Regions from separate parts of the Homo sapiens genome. Here regions 1 and 2 are each linked to region 3. Evidence: promoter capture Hi-C in 16 types of primary human blood cells and fetal thymus (Javierre and others, 2016). All regions are on one chromosome and are shown on one strand. The core of a region is centred on a gene start or on the middle of the fragment in contact, and the rest is flanking DNA. Distances in the headings are between cores, read along the strand shown. Region 1 overlaps ITGAM (integrin subunit alpha M). Region 2 has its middle 17 kb from the start of ITGAM. Region 3 holds the start of PRSS36 (serine protease 36).

What was found. Contacts are between HindIII fragments. The CHiCAGO score rates a contact against its expected background, and 5 or more counts as called.
Region 1: a contact is called between a fragment that was not itself captured here and the fragment with the promoter of PRSS36 in region 3, in 2 of 17 cell types (M2 macrophages and M0 macrophages). The highest score is 8.1, in M2 macrophages.
Region 2: a fragment that was not itself captured here is called in contact with the fragment with the promoter of PRSS36 in region 3 in 1 of 17 cell types (monocytes); the score reaches 5.8 in monocytes.

What each region holds. Positions count from the first base shown.
Region 1 is chr16:31,268,656-31,273,560 of GRCh38, forward strand. It overlaps ITGAM (integrin subunit alpha M), which reads left to right. Exons shown (of 30, transcript NM_000632.4): 6 at 2,299-2,429; 7 at 3,192-3,337; 8 at 4,710-4,863. Among named protein-coding and RNA genes, the nearest start is that of ITGAM, 11 kb to the left of the region's middle. RefSeq lists enhancers at 2,627-3,152, 3,153-3,678, 4,678-4,905. The HindIII fragment of the contact is 3,863 bases long and covers 1-3,340 here.
Region 2 is chr16:31,240,898-31,245,786 of GRCh38, forward strand. No RefSeq gene overlaps it. Among named protein-coding and RNA genes, the nearest start is that of ITGAM, 17 kb to the right of the region's middle. RefSeq lists enhancers at 3,032-3,121, 3,483-3,987, 3,988-4,491. The HindIII fragment of the contact is 8,842 bases long and covers 1-4,889 here.
Region 3 is chr16:31,148,632-31,153,244 of GRCh38, forward strand. PRSS36 (serine protease 36) reads right to left here and starts at 1,435. Exons shown (of 15, transcript NM_173502.5): 1 at 1,368-1,435; 2 at 1,065-1,100; 3 at 832-867; 4 at 442-604; 5 at 1-44. The coding sequence starts at 1,404. RefSeq lists enhancers at 69-606, 607-1,142, 1,143-1,679. The HindIII fragment of the contact is 9,446 bases long and covers 1-4,613 here.

The DNA of each region.
Region 1 (4,905 bases), core at 159-2,658, 120 kb after region 3:
CTGTGGCTCCCCATTGCCTACAGATAAAGTCGAGCTCCTTATTGGAGTAGAAAGGCCCTTGCCCGCTGCTCTTTGCTTGATGCCACCGCTGTGTCTCCATCGCCGTCACATACGTTTGTCCCTGTAGTGCTGTTTCCATCAAACGGCATTCCTGGATTCTGCCAGAATCCTTTTGAGGCCCTTGTCCCATATATCAGTAGGAGTCTCAACTGGGACCAAAAGCACATTCCAGTAATGTAACTGCCCAAGGGGTTCACCTTGCTTGCTGCCTAGACAGAGCCGATTCATCAAGACAGCAGAATTGCGATAGAGAAAGAATAATTCACACAGAGCCAGCTATGCAGGGGACCAGAGTTTTATTATCACTCGAATCAGTCTCCTCGAGCATTTGGGGGCAGAGTTTTTGAGGATAACTTGGTAGGTCGCGGGGGAAGCCAGTGAGCTGGGAGTGCTGATTGATCAGGGATGAAATCATCGGGAGTCGGAGCTGTCTTCTTGCGTTCAGTTGGTTCCTGGGTGGGGGCAGCAAGATCGGATGAACCAGTTTATTGATCTGGGCAGTGCCAGCTGATCCATCAAGTGCAAGGTCTGCAAAATATCTCAAGCACTGATTTTAGGAGCAGTTTAGGGAGGGTCAGAATCTTGTAGCCTCCAGCTGCATGACTCCTAAATCATAATTTCTCATCTTGTGGCTAACGTTAGTCCTACAAAGGCAATCTAGTCCCCAGGTAAGAAGGAGGTCTGCTTTGGGAAAGGGCTGTTACGATCTTTGTTTAAACTATAAACTATAAACTATAAACTAAGTGTCTCCCAAAGTTAGCTCAGCCTACACCCAGGAATGAACACGGACAGCTTGGAGGTTAGAAGCAAGATGGAATCAGTTAAGTTAGATCTCTTTCACTGTCTCAGTCATAATTTTGCAAAGGCGGTTTCAGTAAGATTTATTTACAAAGAGGGGGGTTTATTTATAAAGGGAGTAATTATAAAGCTGTGACAGGCCTAAGGGAGCCATCAGGGACTTTCCAAGCCCTGGGCAAGCAGGTCTGTTGCCACCCCTGGGTTTATGGGTTGAGGAGAGGGAGAGCTCACCAGGGTCTGGAGAGAGTCATGTGGAGCTGGCTTCCTTCTGAGGAACAGTTGGTCTTTTGTGAAGGACATAGCTGTCCCCAAACAACCTCAATGGGAGAACACCCGGACCTCACTGCCCTCCTCCCTCTAGTCTTCTGTTGAGCCCCCTCATCTGCCAAATCCAATGGGAATCCAGAGGGCAACAGAGTCCTGGTGATGGGGTCCCTGCAGGTTGACCTCCCAGGCCACAGAGCTGAGCGGCAATGGGTAGAAAGTGGATTTGGGGATGGGGCAGAAGGCAGAGGAGCACATTCCACATCACTTTATATGTGTGTGCCCTTCCCTTTTCTAGAATCTACTCCTTTTGTATATCTGGCAAATCCTTCCTTCCTTCCTTCCTTCCTTCCTCCTTTGCTTTCCTTTCCTTTCCTTTCCTTTCCTTTCCTTTCCTTTCCTTTCCTTTCCTTTTTTTCTTCCTTTCTTCCTTTTCTTCGAAGTCTTGCTCTGTGACCCAGGCTGGAGTGCAGTGGTGCGATCTCAGCTACTTTTTGTATTTTTAATAGAGATAGGGTTTCACCATGTCAGCCAGGCTGGTCTCAAACTCCTGATCTCAAGTGATCCACCTGCCTCAGCCTCCCAAAGTGCTGGGATTACAGGTGTGAGCCACCTCGCCCAGCTGGGCAAATTATTTCCTGTTCTTCAAGATTCAGTCAAACATCACCACATTCCCTGATTCCCTTGGGCAGAATTAACGAAAATTTTCCATACCACTTTGTCCTTGTTTATTTACTTATTTATTTATTTTTAAGAGACAGGGTCTTTCTCTGTGGCCCAGGCTGGAGTGCAATGGCGTGATCATAGCTCACTGAAGCCTCAACCTTTTGGGCTGAAGTGATCCCCCACCCTCAGCCTCCTGAGTAGCTGGGACTACAGGCATGTGCCAACATGCCTGACTAATTTTTAACGTGTGTGTGTGTATATATATATATATATATATATATATATATATATATATATATATGTTTTTAACGTGTGTATACATATATATATATACACACACGTTAAAAATTATATATATATTATACATAATTTATATATATATTTAACATCTATATTTTTTATAGAGACGGGGTCCTATATTCTCATTGTTCAGCAGAGGGCTGACATGCAAAAAAACCCAAAACACCAAGTGTCAAATTACTTGATTCATACTCTTTTCCCCTTCCCCAGGGTGTCCTCAAGAGGATAGTGACATTGCCTTCTTGATTGATGGCTCTGGTAGCATCATCCCACATGACTTTCGGCGGATGAAGGAGTTTGTCTCAACTGTGATGGAGCAATTAAAAAAGTCCAAAACCTTGGTGAGGGCCCAGGGGTAGGTTAGGGAAGAGCCCACACGGGGCTGGAAGATACATGGCAACCGGGCCACCATGTTCTCCTCCCAGTTCAACTGCAGACATTGCCAAATTGACGATCGATTATGGTTTGCCTTCCTGAGTCTCTTTTCTGCTCTGTTGGATGCAGCCTCAGCATTCTTTCAGCCTTTTATAAAGCGGGCAGCTCTAATTGTTAAGGTTGGCATGGGAGATGAAGCCCACGTGTCATTGCTGGCTGAGTTCTATTTTCATTTTTATTTCTTATTTTTTTGAGACAGAATCTCACTCTTTCTCTCAGGCTGGAGTGCAGTGGTGTGATCTTGGCTCACTGCAACCTCCGCCTCCCGGGTTCAAGCAATTCTCTTGCCTCAGCCTCCCGAGTAGCGGGGATTACAGGCGCATGCCACCATGCCTGGCTAGTTTTTGTATTTTTAGTAGAGACGGGGTTTCACCATTTTGGCCAGGCTGGTCTCAAACTCCTGACCTCAGGTGATCCACCCGCCTCGGCTTCCCAAAGTGCTGGGATTACAGGTGTGAGCCACTGCTCCCGGCCGCTGGCCGTGTTCTAGTATTGAGGAGAGATGGGAGCTGCTGGCAGCTCTCCGTCCTGGTGAGGCAGGGGATTAGGGGCAGCACAGAGGAGGAATTTGGAGAGTGGAGTGTTTAAGATCTTCGTGGAGCTTGCTGGGAGATGTCTGAGGGGTGGGGGCACCTTCTCCAGCATCACACCAGCCGCCCCCTCCGCAGTTCTCTTTGATGCAGTACTCTGAAGAATTCCGGATTCACTTTACCTTCAAAGAGTTCCAGAACAACCCTAACCCAAGATCACTGGTGAAGCCAATAACGCAGCTGCTTGGGCGGACACACACGGCCACGGGCATCCGCAAAGTGGTGTAAGCTTCCCCTTTTCCCTTAGGATGGAGGGAGGAGGAGACACTTTTAGCTGGGCTTTGATGGATGAAGGGAGCCGTTCAGACAGGGGTGGTAGAGGATGCTTCCCCACCGGCAGAGGTGGGGAGGCTGTGCGTGGTGTGTTCATCAAAGGACAAGTTGTGAGTGAAAGGTGGGAGTGGAGTGGGGAAGTGAGGGAAAGGTGTCTGGAGGGAAGCTACAAAGATCAGCTCAGGCCAGGGAGCCAAAGGCAGCTTTACAGCCTGTGGTGAGATATCGCCATGTCTCATTTTGGGAAGTTCACTCTGATTTTGAGGTGGGTGTAGAGGCAAGGATGGGGTTGGGACAGAAGTACAAGAAGCACTGGAGAGTCCTAGAGGGGCTGGGGAGCTGGTGCAGTGCTCTGGGAGAGGTTTCCTGAAGGCCAATTAACTATATATATATATATATATATATATATATATATATATATATTTTTTTTTTTTTTTTTTTTTTTTTTTTTTTTTTTTTTGAGACAGAGTCTCACTCTGTCACCCAGGCTGGAATGCAGTGGCCTGATCTCGGCTCACTGCAACCTCCACCTCCTGGGTTCAAGCAATTCTCCTGCCTCAGCCTCCTGAGTAGCTGGGATTACATGCGTCCATCACCACCATCAGCTAATTTTTGTATTTTTAGTAGAGACAGGGTTTCACCATGTTGACCAGGCTGGTCTTGAACTCCTGACCTCAGGTGATTCACCTGACTTGGCTTCCCATAGTGCTGGGATTACAAGTGTCAGCCATAAATATATATATTTTTAAAATTCAAAAGTAATAATACTCAGTTAAAAAACCCAAATTATGCGAAAGTATAAAAACAAAAACCGTGAAGGCTTCCTTTCCCTTCCCTGCTGCTTTTCCAGGTCTCGGGGCAGTTGCATCTCAGTGCTAAGTCTCAGGGGAGACGGAGCCCCTCCGAGACCTCGCCTAGCTGTATCTGTGTCTGGGACTCTGCTGACATTTCCTTTCTGACGTTAATAGCATCTCTGGCTAGGTGCAGGGTCTCATACCAGTAATGTCAGCACTTTAGGAGGCCGAGGTGGGAGGATCACTTGAGGCCAGGAGTTTGAGACCAATTGACAACATAGTGAGACTCTATCTCTAAAAAGATAAAAAAATAAACCAAGTGTGGTGGTACATGCCTGTAGTCCCAGGTACTCAGGAGGCTGAGGCAGGAGAATCACTTGAGCCCAGGAGTTCAAGTCTGCAGTGAGCTATGATTGTGTCTCTGCACTCCAGCCTGGATAACAGAGTGAGTGTCTATTTCTTAAAAAAAAAAAAAAACTAGTGTGTCATCTACTTGCATTTGACTTTGTCCCTCCTGTTTCCTGCACAGACGAGAGCTGTTTAACATCACCAACGGAGCCCGAAAGAATGCCTTTAAGATCCTAGTTGTCATCACGGATGGAGAAAAGTTTGGCGATCCCTTGGGATATGAGGATGTCATCCCTGAGGCAGACAGAGAGGGAGTCATTCGCTACGTCATTGGGGTAGGGAATGCAGCTCTCAGGTTGATGCTTCTGTGGAGGGTT
Region 2 (4,889 bases), core at 376-2,875, 92 kb after region 3:
AAATAAATAAATAGTATCACATGGCTTTTTAAAAGTTTAATTTATATTTTTCTCATTGTATGCATTTATTGACCAGTTATAATTCCTCTTCTAAAAATGGTCTGTTCCTATGCCTTGGCTTTTTTTTTTTTTTGAAACGGAGTCTCGCTCTGTCACCCAGACTGGAGTGCAGTGGCACGATCTTGGGTCACGGCAACCTCTGCCTCCCAGGATCAAACAATTCTCCTACCTCAGCCTCTTGAGTAGCTGGGATTACAGGCGCGCACCACCACGCCCGGCTTTTTGTATTTTTAGTAGAGAAGGGGTTTCACCATGTTGGCCAAGCTGGTCACGAATTCCTGACCTCAAGTGACCCACCTTCCGCAGCCTCCTTAAGTGCTGGGATTACAGTCACGAGCCACCGTGCGCCCGGCTGCTTATTTTCCTTCATGAGTTATTGTGGTTCTTTATATATCTGCATACTTTTTTTTTTTTCTGCTACATACATGTGTGGCAAGTGTTTTCTCCTAATCTGACAGCTTGTCCTTCAACTCTGTTTATGGAGTTCTTCTCCTTGTGTTACAGAGGAAATGTTTGGACAGCTTTGGCTTAAGTGTCATCTGCACAGGGCATTTTTTTTGTGCCTTCACAGTGCCTGAGTGATGGCAACACACTCTCTTGGCACTGCAAGCTCCTTCCATCAGGGTGGGACCTGGGTCCTGAGCATGGATTCTTTGGGTCAACATCCCTGCTGCTCTACCTGGTGGGAAAATCCCTTGTCCCTAAAAGATTTATTTTATTTATTTGTTTTTTTTTTGAAATGGAGTCTCGCTCTGTCTCCCAGGCTGGAGTGCAGTGGTGCAATCTTGCTCACTACAACCTCCGCCTCTTGGGTTCAAGTGATTCTCCTGTCTCAGCCTCCCGAGTAGCTGGGATTACAGGCTCACGCCACCACTCCGGGCTATTTTTTGTATTTTTAGTAGAGATGGGGTTTCACTCATGTTGGCCAGGCTGGTCTTGAACTCCTGACCTCAGGTGATCTGCCTGCCTTGGCCTCCCAAACTGCTGGGAATACAGGCGTGAGCCATCATGCCCAGCCTCAGTCCCTAAAAGATTTCTAACTGGTGCTTGAAACCTGAACCCTAACTCATAACATCCCAATTCAGATGCAATCACATGGGTAGCACTTTCAGATTTTACAAAGTGCTTTCATATCCATGATCTTAATTGACCCTCTTAGGGAATGAAGGGAGGGTTGGAATCAGGTCTCCAGTTCATTGGAGAAAACAGTCTCTCAGCAGTTCCCAACAGCAATAGTGATGGTGTTGGCCCAGGAGCCTGATCTATCTCTCAATCTTGGCTTCTCTTCCCCATGCGGTTATTAGTTAATCCCCATCCTGAAAGAATTCTGAAGCGTTTGCCTGGGGGTGGGGATGGGGGTAGAATGTGACTCTAATATCCTCAGAAGGGAGGCTTGTATTAGTAAAGTTGAAAGTAGTCATGGCCAATCTAAACTGCTGCTACTGTTTTTCTGGCTTTTGTCCCGGAGTTGAGACAGAGCAGAGAATTTAGCAAGGTTCGGGTGTAGCTGGGTGTTTCAGGAAAGGACTCAAGAACCAGGAAATGCCCACTGTTCAGTTGCCCAAGGCCTGGATGAATGGATAGAAATGGCTTTCGCTGTGTGAATGAACGCTTTTCCTTCACCCTTAAACCATCTTTTGCAACTTTGCGAAACCATGATTCGCAACTTTGCGAATCAAATAGTGTGAGATCTAATATCAAAGAGTTTTTTAATGAAATAAGCAATACTCATAAGAGACAACAATCACATCAAACAATAAATCCACTATGGTTGCAATTATGAGAAACAAATTCTCTCAAAGAAAAAAAGACAAGCGAGGCCAGGTGTGAAGGCTCATGCCTGTAATCCCAGAACTTTGGGAAGCTGAAGAGGGAGGAATGCTTGAGGCCAAGAGTTTGAGACCAGCCTAGGCAACACAGTGAGGCCCCGTTTCTACGAGAAATAAAAAAAATTAACCAGGTGTAGTGGTGTGTGCCTGTAATCCCAGCTACTTGGGAGTCTGAGGCACGAGAATCATTTGAGCCCAGGAGATGGAGGTTGCAGTGAGCCAAGATCGCACCACAGCACTCCAGCTTGGGTGACAGAGCGAGACTCTGCCTTGGAAAAAAAAAAGAAAGAAAGAAAAATTTGTGTTTGGGCCAGTCACTGTGGCTCACGCCTGTAATCCCAGCACTCTCAGAGGCTAAGTCACTTAAGGCCAGGAGTTCAAGACTAGCCTGAGCAACATAGTGAGACCCACCTCTACCAAAAAGAAAAGAAAAGAAAGAAAGAAAGAAAGAAAGAAAGAAAGAAAGAAAGAAAGAAAGAAAGAAAGAAAAGCTCTGTGAGGGAAGGGACCTTGTGTGTTTTGCTTATTTGTAGGTCCCTGATGCCTGGTACATAGTTGTTTCTCTCTCACTTTCTCTCTCTCTCTATATATATACACACATACACATTATATATACGTACACATTATATATATGTACACATTATATATATATATATATACACACACACACGTTATCTCTATATATCTGGATATATATGTATAGGTATACATATACCTATACATATAGAGAGAGAGAGAGAGAAAGAGAGATAGAGCAAGCTGGGCATGGTGGTTCATGCCTGTAATCCCAGCATTTTGGGAGGCTGAGGTGGGCAGATCACTTGAGGTCAGGAGTTCAAGACCAGCTTGGCCAACATGGTGAAATCCTGTCTCTACTAAAAAAACAAAAATTAGCTGGGCATGGTGACAGGTGCCTGTAATCCCAGCTACTTGGGAGGCTGAGGCAGGAGAATTGCTTGAACCTGGGAGGCAGCAGTTGCAGTGAGCTGAGACCTCGCCATTGCACTCCAGGCTGGGCAACAAGAGCGAAATTCCATCTCAAAAAAAAAAAAAAAAAAAAAAGAGAGAGAGAGATACTTTTTTTTTTTTTTTAAAGAGATAGAGTCTTACCCTGTTACCCAGGTTGGAGTGCAGTAGCACGATCATAGCTCACTGCAGCCTTGAACTCCTGGGCTCAAGAGATCCTCTTGCCTCAGTCTCTCGAGTTTATCTTGAGTTTATATATTTTAATGAGTAAATGAATAAGTGAGGAATTCATTGCTTCATTTCTAAGAGTCCAGCAGGAAGCCCAATAAATTGTAGTTGTAGATACCGGGGAAGTGAAACACATTAGGTAAGGGAGGCCCACTCCTCAATGGGAAAAGGGGAAGTGAGGAGAAACTTCAGAATAGCAAAGAGGAACCTGACAACAATTCAGTTCAGCCTTGTGGAATCCAGTGATGTGAGATAAAATCACTCGGTGTTTAACAGACACTGCTGAGCTTCCGATTACCCTGCCCTGGAGCTCCTGTCTGGCCTCTTTCTGTGATAGGATTCATGGGCTATTGTTTAAGTTGTGATCTCTGTTATTTGTAGCTCAAAGCATCCCAACAGACATAATCTCTGTTGTAAATACTTGGCATATAATCACATAACTTTTTTTTTTTTTGGGACAGGGTCTCACTCTGTTGCCCAGGCTGGAGTGCAGTCACATGACTGTGGCTCGTTGCAGCCTTGACCTCCTGGGCTCAAGTGATCCTTCTGCCTCAGCCTCCTGAGTAGCTGAAACTACAGGTGTGTACCACCCTAGACAACTAAAAATGCTTAATGGTTTTTGTGAAATGTGTTTTAGTGTTTAAAAAGCTATATTCTCTTCCTCCTTTTTTTTTTTGAGATGGAGTTTCGCTCTTGTTGCCCAGACTGGAGTGCAATGGTGCGATCTCGGCTCACCACAAACTCTGCCTCCCAGGTTCAAGGGATTCCCCTGCCTCAGCCTCCCGAATAGCTGGGATTACAGGCATGCGCCACCACGCCGGCTAATTTTGTATTTTTAGTAGAGATGGGGTTTCTCCATGTTGGTCAGGCTGGTCTCAAACTCCCGACCTCAGGTGATCCGCCTGCCTTGGCCTCCCAAAGTGCTGGGGTTACAGGCGTGAGCCACCACGCCTGGCCTTGTTTGTTGAGATGGAGTTTCACTCTTGTTGCCCAGGCTGGAGTGCCATGGTGTGATCTCAGCTCACCGCAACCTCCACCTCCCAGGTTCAAGTGATTCTCCTGCCTCAGCCTCAGCCTCCTGAGTAGCTGGGATTACAGGCATGTGCCACCATGCCCGGCTAAAAAGTATTTTTAGTAGAGATGGGGTTTCTCCATGTTGGTCAGGCTGGTCTTGAACTCCCGACGTCAGGTGATCTGCTCGCCTTGGCCTCCCAAAGTGCTAGGATTACAGGCGTGAGCCACTGTGCCTGGCTTTTTTTTTTTTTTTTTTTTTTTGGACAGAGTTTTGTTCTGTTGCCCAGGCTGGAATGCAGTGGTGTGAATTTTAAATTTTTCTGTAGAGATGAGTATTGAGGGAAATTCAGCCAGATATCGGGTGAAATTCACCCCTGATATTTCACATAGAATATTCTTTTCTATTTTCCCTAAGTGTCAGCTGGTCTGAGAAATAAAGGGACAGAGTACAAAAGAGAGAAATTTTAAAGCTGGGTGTCCAGGGGAGACATCACATGTCAGCAGGTTCTGTGATGCCCCCTGAGCCGTAAAACCAGCAAGTTTTTATTAGTGATTTTCAAAAGGGGAGGGAGTGTACGAATAGGATGTGGGTCACAGAGATCACATGCTTCACAAGGTAATAAGATATCACAAGGCAAATGGAGGCAGGGCGAGATCACAGGACCACAGGACTGGGGTGAAATTAAAATTGCTAATGAAGTTTCAGGAACGCATTGTCATTGATAACATCTTACCAGGAGCCAGGGTTTGAGAGCAGACAACCGGTCTGATCAAAATTTATTAGGTGGGAAT
Region 3 (4,613 bases), core at 185-2,684:
CCAGCAGTACCGACCACTCGGCCGCGGGCTCCAGCGTCCCATTCCTGCGCTCGACCGGGGCAGTAGGAGGTTAGGTTGACCCTATGGAGGGGGCAGACCCTCGTTGGGGGCAGGGGCTCAGAGCCAGAGGGGCAGGTGCTATCCGATCCAGATTTGGTGCTGATACTCCTCAAAGGGGAAGAGCAAATCCGATTTGGAGCTGGTGGTGGGGGGGTCATTGGAAAGATGGGATTCAGACCCGGATATTGAGTGGAGTGGTGGGACCAGTCCGGCAGCCTTGCCCCACTCGGAACCATGATGCCTCGAATAGCACCTCGCTTTGGGGACAGCTTGGCTCCAAATTATCCTTGAGGACGGAAGTGGGGCGGGAGGAGGGGACCAACTGCGGGGGCGGGGGCCAGCTTTTGGCGGAGAGGGGCCAGGACCAGGGCGAATACTCACGTCATGAAACAGTGAGCAGCGGAGAGGACCCAGGAGGGGGCGATGAGGGAGCCCCCGCAGATGTGGCCACCTCCATGGTGCAGGCTCACTTGCCAAGGCCAGGTGCCCGGCTGCGCGTTTGAGCCCCCCACGATGCGGGCCGAGGGCTCAGGGCGCCCGCAGTCTGCAACGGGGAGCCGTGGAAGCCAAAGCTCCCCTCGGGTTCCCCACTCCAGAAGCCCAGGTAACTCAGGACGAAGGCCCGTCCTCCACCCACTTCAGTTTGCCCCTCTGAACAAAGAACATAGAGGACCCAGGCTTGTCTACATTTCTGGTCTTTTCCACCTCCCTCATGGCCTGACCAGCCTTAGCCTCCTTTAAGGTCTGAGGGTGCCAAGGCCTCTTCCTTACCCAGATCTTCAGGTTCTTCCTGGGTAGGACTGAGAGCTGGGAGCCAGAGGGGAAAGAGAGGAGGACACTTGTGACTTCCAGGCCTGCACCGCCCAGCCCCACTTCCTGCTCTCCAACCCCCGACCCTATCTTCCCACTTCCCTGTCCGTTCAGCAACCCCTGCCAGCACCCATGCCAGTCCTCTGGTCTTTTCTGCCTCTGCACGTGACTTTCCCCCAGTCCGGCTACCTTACCTGAGTCCTGGAAGGCTCCTGGGATGGGACTGATGACTGGAAAGACAGAGGTAGGCAGGAAGAGGCTGGCGACTCGCACTCAGTATGTGCCCTCCCTGACTCCCTCCCCCAGCCTCCTAGCCTCCGTCTCCCCAGGGCACCCAGGCCTCCCTCTCCCTCCTCTGATACATCCTCGCCTTCTGCTGCCTCACTTCCTTCTCTCTGACTTCCTGCTCCCCACACAGAAACCAGGAATCCTGCTCTCCAGCCCCCCAGATGCCAGGACCCAGGCCCTTTGCAGCCACTCTTGTCCCCTGAGGTTACCAAGCATCACAAGGGGGAGGAGCAGGTGCCGGGCCATGGCGCTAGAGTCAGCGGAGGCAGAGCCAAGTGAAGGTCTGCTCCCTGCAGGGCTCTGTCACTGCCCAGGCAGCCCGTGACTCCTGATGGTCCCAGGGGCAGCCCCACCCTCCCTGGCTGGAGCCCATCTCTGGGAATCTGAGAGGATCTGGGGCTGGAAGGGGGAAGCTGGGGAGCCTGAAGGCCCCACCCAGAGCCCTGCGCACATCTCATGTCTCTGGAGGCCCAGGGTGGGGGTGGAGGACAGGTGTCCTAGCTCCTGGACACCTGTTGGGTGGGAGAGGGAGGGATGAAAAACACTGCAGGCAAAGGTCAAAGAGGAGGACAGTGTTCTGTGTCCTTGGTGAGCAGTGGCCCTTAGGACAGGGGAAGTGGCCCCTCACGGGCATGACTCATCGGAGACCTCACCTCTGTTTGGGGTGCGGCTGCCCCAGTGGCTTGGCCTTTTCTTCTCACACAGCTCTGGTTACTGGAGCTGCTGGCCAGGTCTGGGACAGGAGCCCTAGGGAATTCAATCCCATCCCAACAAAAGGATCACAGATTCCAGCAGGTTGGGCAGGGCATAGGGACCCTGGGAGGGGGCTGGGCAGGCTGGCGAGGCTGAAAAAGCCTCCACCCTGCTCTGTGTTCCAGTGACAATGCTCTTAGCTGCCCTGTCACTTACTCTGTGTGACTTTGGGAAAGTAACCCAACCTCTTGGTGTGTATCAGTAAGAGCCAGTTTAAGGGACATATGACTTGGCCGAGCACGGTGGCTCACTCCTGTGATCCTAACACTCTGGGAGACTGAGGTGGGAGGATTGCTTGAGGCTAGGAGTTCAAGACCAGCCTGGTCAACATAGCAAGACCCCATCTCTACAAAAAATTAAAAAATACAAAAATTATGAACTGCAGGGCGTGGTGGTGCACGTCTGTATCCCAGCTACTCGGGAGATGAGGTGGGAGGATTGCTTGAGCCTGGGAGGTCGAGGTTGCAGTGAGCTATGATTGTGCCACTGCACTCCAGCCTGGGTGACAAAGCGAGACCCTGTCTCAACAACAACAACAAAAAGAAAAAAAAAAAGAAGAATAAGAAGAAGAAAGAAACATATGGCTCTTCAAAGAGGAGTTGAAGAGAGTTTAAGGAAGAAACTATTTATAGAAGTGTAGGCAGGGTCAAAGGAAACCAAAGAGGCTGGGTGGCTCACGGCTGTAATCCCAGCACTTTGGTAGGCCGAGGCGGGCAGATCACCTGAGGTCAGGAGTTCAAGACCAGCCTGGCTAACTTGGAGAAGCCCCATCTATACTAAAAATACAAAAATTAGCCGAGTGTGGTGGAACTCACCTGTAATCCCACCTATTAGGGAGGCTGAGGCAGATAAAAATGCTTGAACCCAGGACGTGGAGGTTGCAGTGAGCCAAGATAGCGCCGTTGCACTCTAGCCTGGGTGACAAGAGCGAACTCCGTCTCACAAAAAAAAAAAAAAAAAGGAAACCAAAGAGGGATGGTAACGCATCCTGGGGCCAGCAATAATAGAGAGCCCTTGCTACCTGCTGGCCTGAAGAGGCAGAGAGGGGGCAGTTACTGGAACCCAGCAAGAGCTGCAGCTATGGAAGAGATAGCTGTTAGGAGCCGTGGCCTTCAATAGAGAAATGCAGCCTTTACCAGCAGAGAGGGAGTGGGGAAAGAAAAATCCCCATCTCACTCTCATCTCATCCTCTCTATTTTTAATTAAACCAATTAAAAAATTTTAGAGACACGGTCTCACTCTGTCACCCAGGCTGGAGTGCAGTGCTGTGATTATAGCTCACTGTAACCTCGAATTCCTGGGCTTAAGCGATCCTCTGGCCTCAGCCTCCTGAGAAGCTGGGACTACAGGCACGCACCACCATACCCAGCTAATGTTTTTTATTTTTGTAGAGATGGGGTCTTATTATGTTGCCCAGGCTGGTCTCAAACTCCTGTCTCAAGCGATCTTGCTGCCTCAGTCTTCCAAAAGTGCTGGGATCCTCCCATCCTCTGATCACCCCCTGGCTCTTTTCATTGAAACCTCCCAGAGGCCAGAGTTCAAGGGAGACCATTATATGGTCCATAAAGGTCACTCTTAGGGAACAAATCAGGGTGGACAGCAGAAATGCAGGGTCAACCCAGGAATATTTACACATGTGTATCTATCTTCTTACTGATAATATCAATTAATAATAATATTGGTCTATGAGTCTAGTTGCCCTAGAAAACAGGCCTAGGCAAAGCCTGCATGCTTGTGCTTAATTGGGAGGTGCAATCCCAGGGTGGCAAGATTGAGGGAAAATGAGAAGTGAGCAGGAAGAGGGAAAATGCAAATTCAGCCACCCAGCAACGGACTGGGCTCAATTGATAAACCTGCTAGCCTTAGCCTGTCCACAGGAAACGATGGAGGTAAATTGAGTCTTAACTTCAGATTTCTTAACAATGAGAGCCTCCTCAGGCATTTGTTTAACTTGCTGCTTGGGTAGCTATTTGCCCTTCAAAGGATAAATAACCAATCATTTAACCAAAACTCAGAAAAATGAGGTAATGGGCAAAGGTAGGAAAGAAGAGAGTGCAAGTGTCATTGACGCAAAACATGCACGCCCTGGAGACCCTCACCGATACATTGCTTGCTCCAATTTAGTGGTTAATAAACATTTTGGAGCTGGGCGCGGTGGCTCATGCTGGTAATCCCAGCACTTTGGGAGGCCGAGGCAGGTGGATCATGAGGTCAGGAGTTCAAGACCAGCAGCCTGGCCAACATGGTAAAACCCTATCTCTACTCAAAATTAAAAAATTAGCTGGGCATGGTGGCATGTGCCTGTAATCCCAGCTACTCAGGAGGCTGAGACAGGAGAATGGCTTGAACCCAGGAGGCGGAGGTTGTGCTCAGCTGAAATCGCACCACTGCACTCCAGGCTGGGTGATAGAGTGAGACTCTGTCTCGAAATAAATAAATAAATAAATAAAATTTTGGGGCCAGGTGCAGTGGCTCAAGCCTGTACTAGTGCTTTGGGAGGCCAAGATGGGAGGATTGCTGGAGGCCAGGAGTTCTAGACCAACCTGGGCAGCATAACGCGATCCTGTGTGTGGTGGTGTGCACCTGTAGTCCCAGCTGCCCAGGGGTTTCTCCATGTTGGTCAGGCTGGTCTCAAACTCCTGACCTCAGGTGATCCACCTGCCTCGGCCTCCCAAAGTGCTGGGATTACAGGCATGAGCCAC